Regions from separate parts of the Homo sapiens genome. Here all the other regions are linked to region 2. The links are contacts of gene promoters, found by promoter capture Hi-C in blood cells and fetal thymus (Javierre and others, 2016). All regions are on one chromosome and are shown on one strand. The core of a region is centred on a gene start or on the middle of the fragment in contact, and the rest is flanking DNA. Distances in the headings are between cores, read along the strand shown. Region 1 overlaps TGIF1 (TGFB induced factor homeobox 1). Region 2 holds the start of METTL4 (methyltransferase 4, N6-adenosine). Region 3 has its middle 220 kb from the start of LINC00470. Region 4 holds the start of MYL12A (myosin light chain 12A).

The links. Contacts are between HindIII fragments. The CHiCAGO score rates a contact against its expected background, and 5 or more counts as called.
Region 1: a fragment that was not itself captured here is called in contact with the fragment with the promoter of METTL4 in region 2 in 2 of 17 cell types (fetal thymus and naive CD4 T cells); the score reaches 10.9 in fetal thymus.
Region 3: a contact is called between a fragment that was not itself captured here and the fragment with the promoter of METTL4 in region 2, in 1 of 17 cell types (M0 macrophages). The highest score is 6.7, in M0 macrophages.
Region 4: a contact is called between the fragment with the promoter of MYL12A here and the fragment with the promoter of METTL4 in region 2, in 2 of 17 cell types (fetal thymus and naive CD4 T cells). The highest score is 8.7, in fetal thymus.

The regions. Positions count from the first base shown.
Region 1 is chr18:3,450,199-3,453,323 of GRCh38, reverse strand. It overlaps TGIF1 (TGFB induced factor homeobox 1), which reads right to left. Exons shown (of 3, transcript NM_003244.4): 1 at 2,819-3,125. The coding sequence starts at 2,834. LOC124904237 (a long non-coding RNA gene) reads left to right here and starts at 2,668. Exons shown (of 2, transcript XR_007066269.1): 1 at 2,668-2,792. RefSeq lists enhancers at 1-591, 592-1,213, 1,214-1,835 and silencers at 2,413-2,462, 3,103-3,125. The HindIII fragment of the contact is 1,565 bases long and covers 468-2,032 here.
Region 2 is chr18:2,570,133-2,573,398 of GRCh38, reverse strand. METTL4 (methyltransferase 4, N6-adenosine) reads left to right here and starts at 1,894. Exons shown (of 9, transcript NM_022840.5): 1 at 1,894-2,250. It overlaps NDC80 (NDC80 kinetochore complex component), which reads right to left and starts at 1,842. Exons shown (of 17, transcript NM_006101.3): 1 at 1,716-1,842; 2 at 313-422. The coding sequence starts at 413. RefSeq lists enhancers at 1,837-1,996, 1,879-2,801. The HindIII fragment of the contact is 2,186 bases long and covers 1-2,140 here.
Region 3 is chr18:1,574,035-1,577,170 of GRCh38, reverse strand. No RefSeq gene overlaps it. Among named protein-coding and RNA genes, the nearest start is that of LINC00470, 220 kb to the right of the region's middle. The HindIII fragment of the contact is 2,651 bases long and covers 371-3,021 here.
Region 4 is chr18:3,246,551-3,249,895 of GRCh38, reverse strand. MYL12A (myosin light chain 12A) reads right to left here and starts at 2,095. Exons shown (of 4, transcript NM_006471.4): 1 at 1,987-2,095. It also overlaps a transcript of MYOM1 not described here. RefSeq lists enhancers at 957-1,026, 2,159-2,388 and a silencer at 1,789-1,868. The HindIII fragment of the contact is 13,247 bases long and covers 1-3,345 here.

The DNA.
Region 1 (3,125 bases), core at 1-2,500, 880 kb before region 2:
ATAAGATTGATGGGAAAAGTCGAGATGCACAATTAGGAAAAAGCAAATTTAACTCAACAAGTTTCCTGACCAGAAGTTCTCCTTTGAGCTGGGAGCAATGTCTCTTGCCTGTAATCCCAGAACTTTGGGAGGCCAAGGCGAGAGGATTTCTTGAGCCCAGGAGTTCGAGACCAGCCTGGGCAACATAGCCAGACCCGGTCTCCAGGAACAAAAGAAAAAAAAAATCAGTATCTCCTTGGGAGAAGCAACAGGCATTGAACACTCAAGCCACCAAATCCAAGGTATGGTTGGCTACCCCAGCCAAAGAGCAATCCCAAAGCAGGAATTCAACAGTTAAAAACTGGGAGCAAAAAGACTTAGTGGATTTTCCTTATCGATCCTTCTCATTGTTTTTAAGTCATTTTAGGAGATCTTTTGGCGTCACTCTCAGCTTTCTGGGAGGACACACTATTATCACAAACCAAGCTTACCCCGGGCTCAGGAATGGAGCTGAAAGTGCACTTGTTTTAAGAAAACTTGAAAAGATTTGCAGACTTTTATAAGACAAGACAGTAAGGAGGGCCCGACTTCCTCAGGAGTCTTTCCAGAGCCGACGGGGAAGGCTCCCCCCTCCCAGGTAGTTTTAGAGGAGGACGGCGGAGGAGCACGGGGAGAGGGAGGGGCCCAAGGAGGAAAAGCAAGTAGCTTTTGTTCTTGAGAGTTCCTCGGCCTCAAGTGAAACAGGCCGGCCCGCACACTGCACGAGTTAGCACAAGCAAAGGAACTCCAGGACCCAAGAAACTAGAAATGAGGCCGTGAATCCCACCTTCTCAGAGGCCTGCCCACCCCAGACGACTCGCCAGGGAAACCTAAAAGGGGAAAGAAACCCGGGTAACCTCGGCAGCCTCGGCTCCCCCAAAGAGCCCTGAACCAGTCGCAAAGTTTCCCCTTCAGCCCGTCACCTTTCATTGTTTCCAGGAGTCGGCGCCGAGGAGCTGGACCCTGTGCGCCCTGGGATGGGGACCGCGGAAGTTCCCACCGATGCGGCCGGCGGGGCCCAGCCTTGGTCCCCAGCTCCGGGGAGAGGGCACGCGGCTGTGGGCAGCGCGCCGGTGGAGGAGGGGGGGCGCAGGAGGACCCCAGGAGCGCAGAGGGGGTCGCCAGGGAGGACCACGGCGCTGGGGGAAGGTAGGCCAAAGTGCCGCGGGAGAGTCGGGGGGACGCCAGAAAAGCCGTGGAAAAGGAGCACTGGGGATTCCCGGGGTGGGAGGCGGGCCATGGAAAGGAATCAGAGCCGCCCCCGCCGGAGCCCGAACAATGCGGGGAGCCCACCCCGGCAGACACCCGGCTCTGCGCTAGAACCATCCTCGAAACACAGAGCCCCTCACTTATTCCCGGGAGGCCCACCACAACAGACAGCGCGTGTCTCTAGACCTGTCAGTCCTCCCAAGGGTCGGCACGGCTTTCACGGGGCGTCTCGGACGCCCCCCGCGCGTTTTCTCCCAGGGCCAATTCCCTGTCCCGAGTCCTCCCTCCGTCCCGCGGGGAGGGGTCCTTAGGGCGTTCTACCAACAACGACTGCCAGTTGATCCGAGTTTCAAGTTTAATTTCACTCTCGCTGGGAAAGCCTGGAGGCAGAGGGAAGCTCCGCGCGTTTCAGGGCCTCCCACAGAAACGCAGCCGAAGGAACCCCGCTGGCCTTGAGGCTACCCCCCAGGAACGCCCCGCAGCGGGCCGGGTCTGAAAGAATGTGGAGTTCCAAACTCCAGGCGGCTCCCGGGCATGCGCAGTAGCGCCGCCCCTCCCGTCCGCTTCCCGAGTGATTAACTTCTGTTTTGAACCACTCCACATAAATCACGACAGAAACGCCACCTCCAGCCCACAGCGGAACACTCGGGGGACCTCCCAGCCAGGGACTCAATTTTTGTTAACTTCAAAAGGGACTTCACACTCTGACCTTTCGGGGTGTTTTGTGTGGTTTCTCCACCCCCCGTCCCCCTCCGGTGTATTTTGTTTTTAAACCAAACTGACGGCAAGTTTTAGTTGTAAAGCTTCCAGAACACTTCGTGGAAACAATGACAGCCTTGCTCTTTGCACTTACAACCAAGCCTGCTTGTCACATTTGGACGCATTTTGACTGCATGCCGCTTGAAGCTGCTGGCCCTGGGTGCTAACTCTTCCTCCTGCCCCAAAATTCATCGTGGGAAAACTTTTAGAGACTGGGGATTTGTAAAAGTCTAGCTTTCCAAAGCTGTTTACACCCGAGGGCGATGAGGGGGTCCAGAATCGCATTCCTTCGATCGTAAAAACACCACATCCCTAAAGAACAGTGCTAGGGCCCGGCTGGGAGTAGGGGGGCGGCGGGGGCGGGGGCGGGGGGAGCCTAGGAGTGGAACTTTCAGACAAAGCCGCGGCGGTCCCGCGGCCCCGGCCGCCTGGGTCCGGATCGGGAAAAACGAGGGGCTGGGTCCTCCCTACTCGGACCCCATATCCCCAGCACGCGAGAAAGAGCGAGAAGCCACGCGGCGGCTGGGCCGAGCGTGGGGTGTCGGCGGAGACAATGAAACTTGCAGGCGCACAAACAAGGCGCTGAGCGTGTTTCTTGACAACGTGCCAGCAGCGTGGAGAGGCTCGCCCCACAACAGCCCCTCGTGTTGTGTCTAGCAGGAAAACAGCCGCTGCCGTTTCAGACGCAGCCTCAACAAAGAGCACGGCCGCCACTCCAGCATGAGAGCCCCTGGGCGGAAAAGTCCACCAAGTGACTCCGCGCGGCGCGGCCCGGCCAGCACGTTTCCCCGGACTCGCGTCTTCTGGTGCGCGCAGCCCGCGGCCGCCTTACCTTTCTTGCCTTTCATTCTGGATCTCCCCTCCCAGCGCGAGGCAAGGCGGGGGTCTGGAGGGGCCAGGAGCGGGGACACAGGGGATAAGCGAACGTCTCCTTCACAGCCGACTCTCCCGTAACTTGTAGGACGTGCTCCAGCCGTTATTGCTAAACAGGACGCTCTGATCCCAGGCGCCCGCTCCTTGGGTGGAATTCAAGTGACACTTGGGCTTCCTCCCGCCGGGATCTTCTGGCAGCCGGCCGGGGGCTCTCCCTCGCCCAACTCTCTCCCCTCCCCTCTCCGCTCCTTTGTTCCCTGCTCCTG
Region 2 (3,266 bases), core at 645-3,144:
CCTGCTTAAACAAGTAGCTCTAGAATAAAAGAGAAAAATAAGAGAGTACTGAACAAGAATTAACAGTCCTTTTAGGGGGTGCCTGGTAAAGCATTTGGCTTTGGAAATTTGTGAAACAAATGACACAAACAACACCTAGCAGAGTATCATGCCCACTTTTAGATTTCATTGATCCAAAATTAGGTACCCCTGGGAACAGACAAGATTCACCAAGACATCACTCATATTACATCTTTATATTAACTATTTCTTATGATTTCTTTGCCTAAGATGATAAAGCATGCAAATTAGAACCACAAGGGAAATACTCACGTTTGAGGGGTATAGAGGCCTTGTTTATTTACATCCTGGGATCTTAACTCCTGCATGGAGAGGCGGCCAGCACCACCGCTGGAAACTGAACTGCGCTTCATGCTTATGACCTACATTCACGAATTCAGTATTTAAAAAAAACTTTCCAGACAGAGATGGTACATTAAGCAACTATTTATCCTTAAACAGAAAGACAGTCAGGTTTCATTGTTTCTTCAAGATCATCATCTTTCCCCTGGGGTATCTCTTTTTTGTTCATGTACACTGAAGTTCTCATTTGCAAGGAACATCTATTTAATTCCATTTAAAAATATTCAACATAAACATTTATTAACTGCCCACTATATATATAGGGGAGTGTGCTAGGCAATGCAGGAGATGCAAAGACGAGTAAGTTACGGTTTTTGCCTTCACAAGGGTATCCGTGGTAGCTAAAGCCCTGTCTGTTACCCAGACCACATTACTGCTGTTGGCTGTGCCTATTTCAATAGGAAGACAAAAAAATTACCTCAAATTCTCTTATTCACCTCAAAATGTTTCCTTTTCTTTGGTTTCAGAGAATGGAATTATTCTGTTTTCCTAATGTCAATCTCTCCTGCTCTGTCCTTAACCCATTGTTTCCTCAATTACTGCCCTTTTGGCATCAATCTCCCCTTCAACAAGGATAAATCATCCGGTCCATAAAATGGTCTATAGGCTGCCTCCATTTACAAACCACATTAACAGGTCACTCCCTTCACATCTGCTAAAAAATTTGTCTCCTAGGATACACATGATTGACAAAACTTTTGATCCTGTCTCATCTCTGCACCCAGCCTTCTCAGGTCCTGCCCTGGCTTTCAGGAAGGTGACAATCCTTTTACTTCTCTGGGTACTCCTTAGTCTTTTACACTGATTAGACTCTTCTTGATTTTGGCCGCCTATTTCCTCTTCAATATGCGCTTGTTCATCTATTCAACTTTTCCACTCACACCTGTGTGTCCACGTTTAATCTCCACTTAGAATGTAGCTCTCATGATTTAAGATGAAGACTTCTACACGCAGTCCTACACGGCCATAAGAAGCTACACTAGTATTCAGACGCAACCCACCCAACGAGTCCTCTCTTGTCCATCTCTTTCCGCCCCCTTCAATTCTTCCCCGTTTCCTCTCCCGAGCCTCCACTCCTCATCAGTGTCCCCCAGGCCCTCCCCTTTCCTCCTTGGGAAATCGTTGCCACTAGAAATTTAATAGATCCCGTGAAACCAGCGCCTCGCACAGTTTTGGCCTCGAGGCTTCTCCCAACAGCAAACAAACACCAAAACATCGCCTCAGGACCTCTAAATTTAAGTCATTGGCGCCATCACTTTCTTCCTCCAGAACAGCTCTGCAGAAACAAAGTTAATCCGATGTCATTCAGTCACCTTTTTTCCAGTTTCCTGACACGACCCAGGGACCGAATTTCTGTAAACCGTGCAAGTATCTGCTAGACAGGACAGCGGTCATCAAAACACCAGGTCCTTCCTCGGCCCGCCAAAGCCGTTCGAATTTGAAATTCTCCGCCGGCGCTGACGTCATTACGCACGACGCGCGCAGTAACTTCCATGCGACCGCCTCGTCGCTGGAAGGCTGCGTGCTGGTCGCGCCCAGCTGCGTCACCCCAGGAACTGGGGTCTGTGGGCCAGTGTGGCCGTCTCTACGAAGACTGGCACGACCCCTAAAGTTAGGTCGGAAGACCTGTGGGCAGCTTGAGCGCCGAGGAGTGCCCTGAACGCTCAACTCGCCCTGGAAACGTTTTTCCGTACAGCAACATGGCGGCGCCCATGGACTCTTAGAAAAGGAGAAAGCTTTTTCTCTGTGGACTGGAAGGGGCATTTTTCATGATCACTATTTAGATGGGTGCTGTTTTCATGAGGAGAGTCTGGGAAGGCGGCGTCCGCTTTTCTGACAAGGGAAGAGGTGAGGTGGGAGAGGGGCTGCGGAGTGGGTGGAATGGGCTCCCAGGATTGCGTTGGTACGGCTGCCGAAATTCGGGCTCAGTATTTGATCACTTGCCGGAGGCTCACGGTCCTCTGGTGGTGGCTGACCTGTGAGAGGCTAGGAAGAATCCAAGTGTTTGGGGGCGGGCGGCGAGGGAGTGGATGTGAAGCAGAGACGCAGGAGAGGGGTGCACTAACAACAGTAACAGTAGATCACTTTGCTAAAATAGGATTTCCTCGCTGCTGTGAGTTTGAATCCAGAAACAGGCACTGCCCGGTACCTGGAGAGTGGTGGTGATGAAAGATCTCACAGCTCCAGGAAGTCTGGATACTTGGGTCTGGTAGCAATTGTGCCATTAACTAGCGTTGTTATTTTTGGGCAGCTTGCCTTTCTGCTCTGAGTTTCAATTTTCCCGTCTGAATTTCTAGCTCTCACTAGCCATTCCAGGACCCTTTTCACCTCAGCTGTGGCCTATGAAGGGGATGGGGAGGAACCAAGGATTATATTAATATAAAAATTATATGAAAATTAGGCAACCGTCTGATAATAAAAAGTCTCCTTGTGGAATACTGTTAGGTTAAACTTTACCTACAGATTGTTAAATCCTTAGCACTAATGTTTTCCCCAGAAAAGATTAATGGAAACATCATTTGCTTTTCTGACTAGATAGTTGCTGCTTCCAAAGGTGGTTTTACACAAATACAAAATTAAAAACACCTTTAGTACAGAAATAATTGCTTGTATTTCGGTATACATTCACAGTACAGTTCAGCATTTAGTGGTCCTGCTAGCAATTTGCCAGGAAGTCAAGCCTGCCAATTTCCTGATATTCCTGCTGTGCACCCCAACTTCTTAATCCCTGCTGAGGATCTTGAGAAGCAGCAGCACCAAAACCAAAGTAGGCACCAAATTCAAGGTTCTTTTGGTTCCGGTTGTCACATTTCAAGCTAGACTCCAATAGATGGAAGGATGATCACATGTGAGCCCTGTTTAAA
Region 3 (3,136 bases), core at 447-2,946, 1.0 Mb after region 2:
CACTATCCTGTAATAATAGCTTCCAAATCTTGGTGGCTTGTACCAAACAAGACTTATTTCTTACTCTCAAAAAATACAATGCAATTTTGAAAAGTAGCCACCTCCCTTATCTTGCAACTATGCTATCCATAAGCAGAGGAAAAATGAACTGGCAGGTAGCATCAGATGTTTTTAAGGACAAAGTCTAGATATATCTTACATCATTTTCACCCACAATCCATCAGTCAAAACTCTATCTCATGACCCAAACTAATGGTATGAAAGCCAGGAAAAGTAGTCTTTCCATTTTCCCAGAAAGAGGAAACAGTACAGTAAAGACAGAACAGCTTCTATGCCAAAAGAGGACTGACAGATACATAAGTTTTAAGCTTAGGGATGAGATTTTCATTAAATTTATTTGCTGGGTACTTAATGAAGTTCTACATTAAAACTTTACTTTCTTTATAAGGAAAGTCAGTACAATAAGGTCTGCATTATCTACTTTATGAGGCTATTATAATAAAATTAAATGATTATGTGGAAGAACTAAGCTCTAAAGTAGTACATAAAACAACACAAACATATATTTTAGGTACATTTGGTACCATACTTACTCTAGAAATATAGGCCTACACAGAAAGGAAGGCAGTTACTCTCTGCTCTTGTTTGATACTTGCTTCCCATGTAGTGTGTTTCCTAAATGAAAGTGTGTGTGTGTGTGTGTGTGTGTGTGTGTGTGTGTGTGTGTGTGTGTGTGGTAGTTGGTCATCTTTTCACAATTGAGGACAGCAAGGACTACCAGACAACTTCCAATACCTAGGAGTTGTCAAATATTTTGTGTAAAAGGGCAGATCTTATATATTTTAGGCTTTGTGGGCTATAAGGTCACCACAGAAGTCTGTCACAACTACTCAGCTCTGCCACTATAGAGCAAAAACAGCCACTGACCATAGGAATGGACATGATTGTGTTTCAATAAAACTTTATTTACAAATATAGATAGGATGCTGAAGACAACTGATTTGTCCAAAAGAGTTCTTTCTGCATTCGTAAGGATTTAAATATCAGATCGACTTTGATAGTATATATGTGGTACTTGAAGGCATTTTCTTAATCCTGCAACACTCTTATTTTTAGCCCCTAAAATAGTCAATACCTATCATTTTTACTGGATAAGCAAAAAACGCCTTCTATTGCTTCAGGATAGGAACTGGGATCCATAAATAAACTTATATAGAAACTAATGGAATGTTTTTAATAGAGAAATAGTCATAGATATGATTACACAGTAAAGACAAAACAGATCTTTGTAATGGAAAACAGATTGAGTATCCACAAAACTTAAACAATGGACAATGAAAAGCTGGAAATGTCAAGGCCCTAAGTAAGGCTCAGGGAAATCAATTCATTCTCAAAACTATGTGTTTTAGCTGAGAAATCCTTATGTGCTACTAGCCTTCCTTGGATAAGAGAACACAGTAATTATAATAAACTAATAAAGCAACATCATTTGTAATTTTTGATGCTCAAGAGCTAATAAACAGAGTGCTTGTCAATGGTCTAATCCATATTTTCTTTAGCCAGTAAACACCCAACGGTCAAAATATTTATTTATGAAAAGACTTCATATCTACCATATCTGTTATTAATGTTTTTCTTTCCACTTTTATAATTTATACCACACATTTATACAATCCTCTGCTGCTTTGGGAATGATATAGTAGTCTGAAAAATAGTAAATTCTCTTCCAGTTACAGTATGAAAGAACATAAAATTTAGCCTTGACAGACAATTTTTTTAAGAAGGTATTGCTGCGAGATGCCTTGATTATCTTTACAACAGCTGCTGAAGGAAGGTCTCAGTCCAAAGAGTATGTTATTGGGTTAGAAAAAAAACTCTCTATAGCTGCAATAGTCTGCGCTTCTACTTGCTGGCTAACACAGGTTAACACAATAGAAGCTAATTATTCTGTCGGGTCAGAGGCTACTGACAGTAAAAAGACAGCCTGTGATCAGGGAAGAACCTCTTTTCACCTCTCTACTACCCTGTCCATAGGGTGCTGAGTGATGTGAGCTCACTCTGATCATATTAAGACAATTCTATCTGCAATGGCTTCATACCTCATTACTATTATCAATGATAAAAGGATATGTGGAACTGAATCTTTGCATATACTTTCTCATTTTCTCACCTTTGATTATTGCCTTCTTCACACCTGCTTATTGAGCTTATACTAAATCCCTTGACAATTGGAGGTCTGGAATCTCACCTGCTAATTACATTGGCTGTGGCTCAAAAACAGACCCATGCTACTGAAGCACCTGTAAACTTTACTTAATGGACATGTTATGACATTTAAAAGCCCCCCTTTCCCCCCTTTATTGATAGCTTTCTTACAAAATTTAAGTCAGTTTTTCTGTAACCAAGTTTATAAAGACCTTGCATTATTAAATTTAATGTAAACCTATTAGTCTTACATTTACTTATTTAATGTGTTATTGTAAATCTGTTATCTAGAGCTATAAATCCAATTCCTTCATCAAGCATTTACCAATTACCCACTATGTGCAGAGGATTTTAGTAAGAACAATGACAGATACAATGAGATGAGCTGTAAGGAACGAACTTGTGGTTAGAAAGAACTATACAATGAAGTATGAATGACAAGGACTGTAACTGAGCTTTGAAGAAATTCTACAGGAGTATAAAAGAATGAAGAGTAACTAATTACATCAATTATTAATGTTGCAAAACCGAACTTGGGTCTGCCTGCTCAGTGCAGCAAAACTGAACAATAATATCAGGATTTGCAGCAAGATAAAGTGAAGCATGGGGAATTAGGAAGTTAACACTTAAGACTCTGAACTCTCCAATGGCGTACATGTTAAGAGTTTTTAAAGGCAGGGAGGTTGGTTATAGGCAATGCATGAAGGCTATACATTAGTTTGCCTAAAAGGCAGGCCATCTTGAAGCAGGGACTTACAGGCCACAGGTGGATATACAAAGATTCTCTGATTTGTGATTGGTTAAGAGAGCAAAGCTTTATCGAAAACTTGGGGTCAGCAGAAAGGAATGTTGAGCTCTGGCCTGTGTACATGACTTAGTCCAGGCCCCTCAGGAAGAAATTTAGAAAAAAGAACAGTGGCCAGAGTTCTGA
Region 4 (3,345 bases), core at 846-3,345, 680 kb before region 2:
AGACGGAGTCTTGCTCTGTCGCCCAGGGTGGAGTGCAGTGGCGCGATCTCAACCTCCACCTCCAGGGTTCAAGCAATTCTCTGCCTCAGCCTCTGGAGTAGCTGGGATTACAGGCACCCACCACCATGCCCAGCTAATTTTTGTATTTTTAGTAGAGACGGGGTTTCACCACCTTGTGCAGGCTGGTCTTGAACTCCTGACTTCGTGATCCACCTGCCTCGGCCTCCCAAAGTGCTGGAATTACAGGCGTGAGCCACCGCACCCAGCTCGAGTCTTTATTTTTGAGGGATTAAGTGAAAGATCCTTGGTGTCAAGGAGTGTCTGTTGTACGAAACTGGAAAGTAGAGAGACTTACAGAACAGGCTTCTACAAAATATGAGGATTTCAGATGCATGAGAAAGTGGATGAAGGGCAGTTAGGAGACTGAGTTTACAGATCTAAAGGAGCATAACCTTTTTTTTAAGTCAGGCGAGGTGAGCGCTGGTGGCAATGAATCTGGTTTTTATTTTGTGTTTTAGCTCAGAATCATTGTGGGCTGTAACGAGAGATACACAACATGATTAAGGAAAATGTTAGACTAGATTAATAGGTGGGAGAAATAGAAGAGATTCTCAAAGTGGCTTTCCCCACACACCAAAGGACACAAGAAGTTTTCAGAATCTCTAGAAACTATGTTCATTTATAAAATGGGATTAATCCATACCAATATATACATTAGAGTTCTGTGGTTAGAATCCTAGAGTCCAGCATTTATTTACAAAGTGGCAATAAATGTAAAATAACCTAGAAACTTCTTCTACAAAACGAACACTCAAATTGATAATATTCTGAGAAATATCACACATTCTGCAAGAAAAAACCACCATCTTACAAAACACTGCGTACTGTGATAGCACCTAGTATTTGGTGGGCTTTCTAAACCCTGACCAAATATACCGCCTCATTTAATCAATGCACTTAAAAAAAAAAAGCCTAAGTATAACTTATTTTCTGGTGCTAACCACAATTTTTAAAAAGTGTATTTCAAGTTGGTGCTTCCGTTCCAAGTAAACCAAGTTTCATTTCTTATGCAAACTTCCGGTTGAAGGTAGGATTCGTTCTCTTGGACTGCCACACCCAAAAGTTCTCACCACTGGACAAAGACAATTAGCTGTGAGGGCTGACTTGCCAGTAAAGCCTCGCTTTTGAAAATAGAGTGCTTTTCTGATTACCGTTTATTAGAGCCCTTCCAGAACATGAAACAAATACCAATAATTTTAAGAAATATTCGCTTTATTCGCCTTTAAATATGAAACTTTTTGCACTTAAGTTAAAATCTCTGCTAAATCCATAGGTCTCTCAAGAACTGACAGATACATTCATATACCTACTAAACTACTTTAAAAAGAAGACACTTCCATGGCGAATTGAATTAGCCCAAACTTTCCCCCCAAATGGGACAAGGTATTACATTTTGGAGTTTTTCTTCGAGTCACAAACTAAACTCCAGATCTCTCTGTCCAAAATTTCATCGCTTAAAGAAAAAAAGTTCTAATTACAGGAGCGGATACTGAGCTGAAGAACTTCCCAATTTGAGTTGGTTATTCCTACTAAACGCAGCCACACAGCTGCAACAACAGCTGCAGCAGGGGGACAACGGGCTACGTTTTTGCGCAAACCCTCTTGAATCGGGCAAGTTGACGTTAGAAACTAAAATAGTCCCGGAGTCAGCTCTGCAGGGGTCGGGTTTCGCGGGCCCGGCAGTCGCCCAAGCTCAAGGCGCCAGTGAGCGAAGCCACATTTCCAGAGTTCCAAGTTTGGGCACAGGAGCGAAGTTCGGGTCTGGGCCACTCCAAGCCATGGCCTCGGATCCCAGAACCGGGGACCTGGCTGGCACACCTGCCCAGGTGCGCTACCGGCGCCAGGAGCCCCGCCGCCCTCCAGCTGCCCCCGCGGAGACGGGTCCCCGGGATGGGTCTCACGCGCCCGAACGCGAGCGCCACTCACCCGGCACAGCTACGAGAATCCGAGCACCTCTCCGAGCCCCTCGCTGCCGCTATCACACCACCCTGCTACCCAGAGAGCCGCTAAAAACCACCGCTTCCGGCCTCTGCTTAGCAAGCCGGAAGGAAGCCCGGTCACCTTTCTTGGCCCGCAGAGTGGGTCTGACTTCACGGAGGGGCGACAGAGAGGGAAGTCGCCAGTGTGGTCAGCGGGCGTGGTATTGACCAAGTGCATGAGAAGGAAGTGTAAAGTGGGCGACCTAGAATATAGAGCAATATATAATGGTCCTCTGGGTCCTGTTACTGAGTTTCCTTCTTTTTTGTACCTGTTGTTGCAGTGTTAAGTCTTCCTCCCCCCTATCCTTTCCGCAGATGGTTGCGTCCGTCCTGTGGCTTTGCCTGGCCGCACATTCCAGGGCACGGCGAAGGGCGGGGCCCGTCGGCCCAAGTCCTTGTAGGGAAATCGAGGAGAGGGCTGCGGGCCCACGTGACTGACCCTCGCCCCGCCCCGAAGCCGGGCTCCAGCTTGTGGGCGGTAGTGCGCCTGCGCTTGACGCCCCGCGCGGGGTCTGGGTCTCCGCCTGAGGGCCCCGGAGCAGTGCGCGTATCCCGGGAGCGGATCTTGATGCTAGCTCTGTGTGCAGTGTAATTTTATTAAGAGTCCCGCCCCCTCCATACGGGAGGAAACGTGTGTCCCTGGGGCCCTCAGCCAAGCCTCCACTATCTTTTTGGCCCAGACGGATTTCCCAGGTCACAAGTGGCTGGAGACTTCCTCTTGAAAAACATTTGCCGTCGTTTTTCCCTGGCAGAGCCCCTTTGACCCTGGCTAACAAGGACAGCCTGACTTGGATCCCACTATGCAGGAAGGAAGGCGACTCTTCCCCGCACCTCTTGCTACGATTAGGACTTGCGACTTGGTGAAAACAGGAATCAAAACTTGGGCCTATTTCTCCTGAGGTCTGCTTGCCTAGAACAATTCGTAACGATGAATCTTATTAAAAAGAGAAAGTCCTCCCCGACTTTATCTTTTTCCGCCCAGAATCCGATAAGGAAGACTTGTTCTGGCCCCCTCAGCTCTCTGACCTCACCTACCAGAGGAGAGAGTGGGATCCTCTAACACTCGAGCCGTCATCCCAGCACTAGGGGACAGTGACCAGTGTGGCTCCCGTGGCCAGAACCCTTCTGAAGTTTGGGTTGCCCTGTGGTCTTCGCCTTCAAAGCAGGCCGCCACTTGAATCCTTCTGGAACGGACAGTGTTGCTGTAAACGCCGCGGAATAGTATCTTCTAAGTATTCGTAGCTTCTTTCTTGAGGGATCTCGGGAACGTTCCGTGTATTAACCACTAACGTATTCCAAAGTTAAC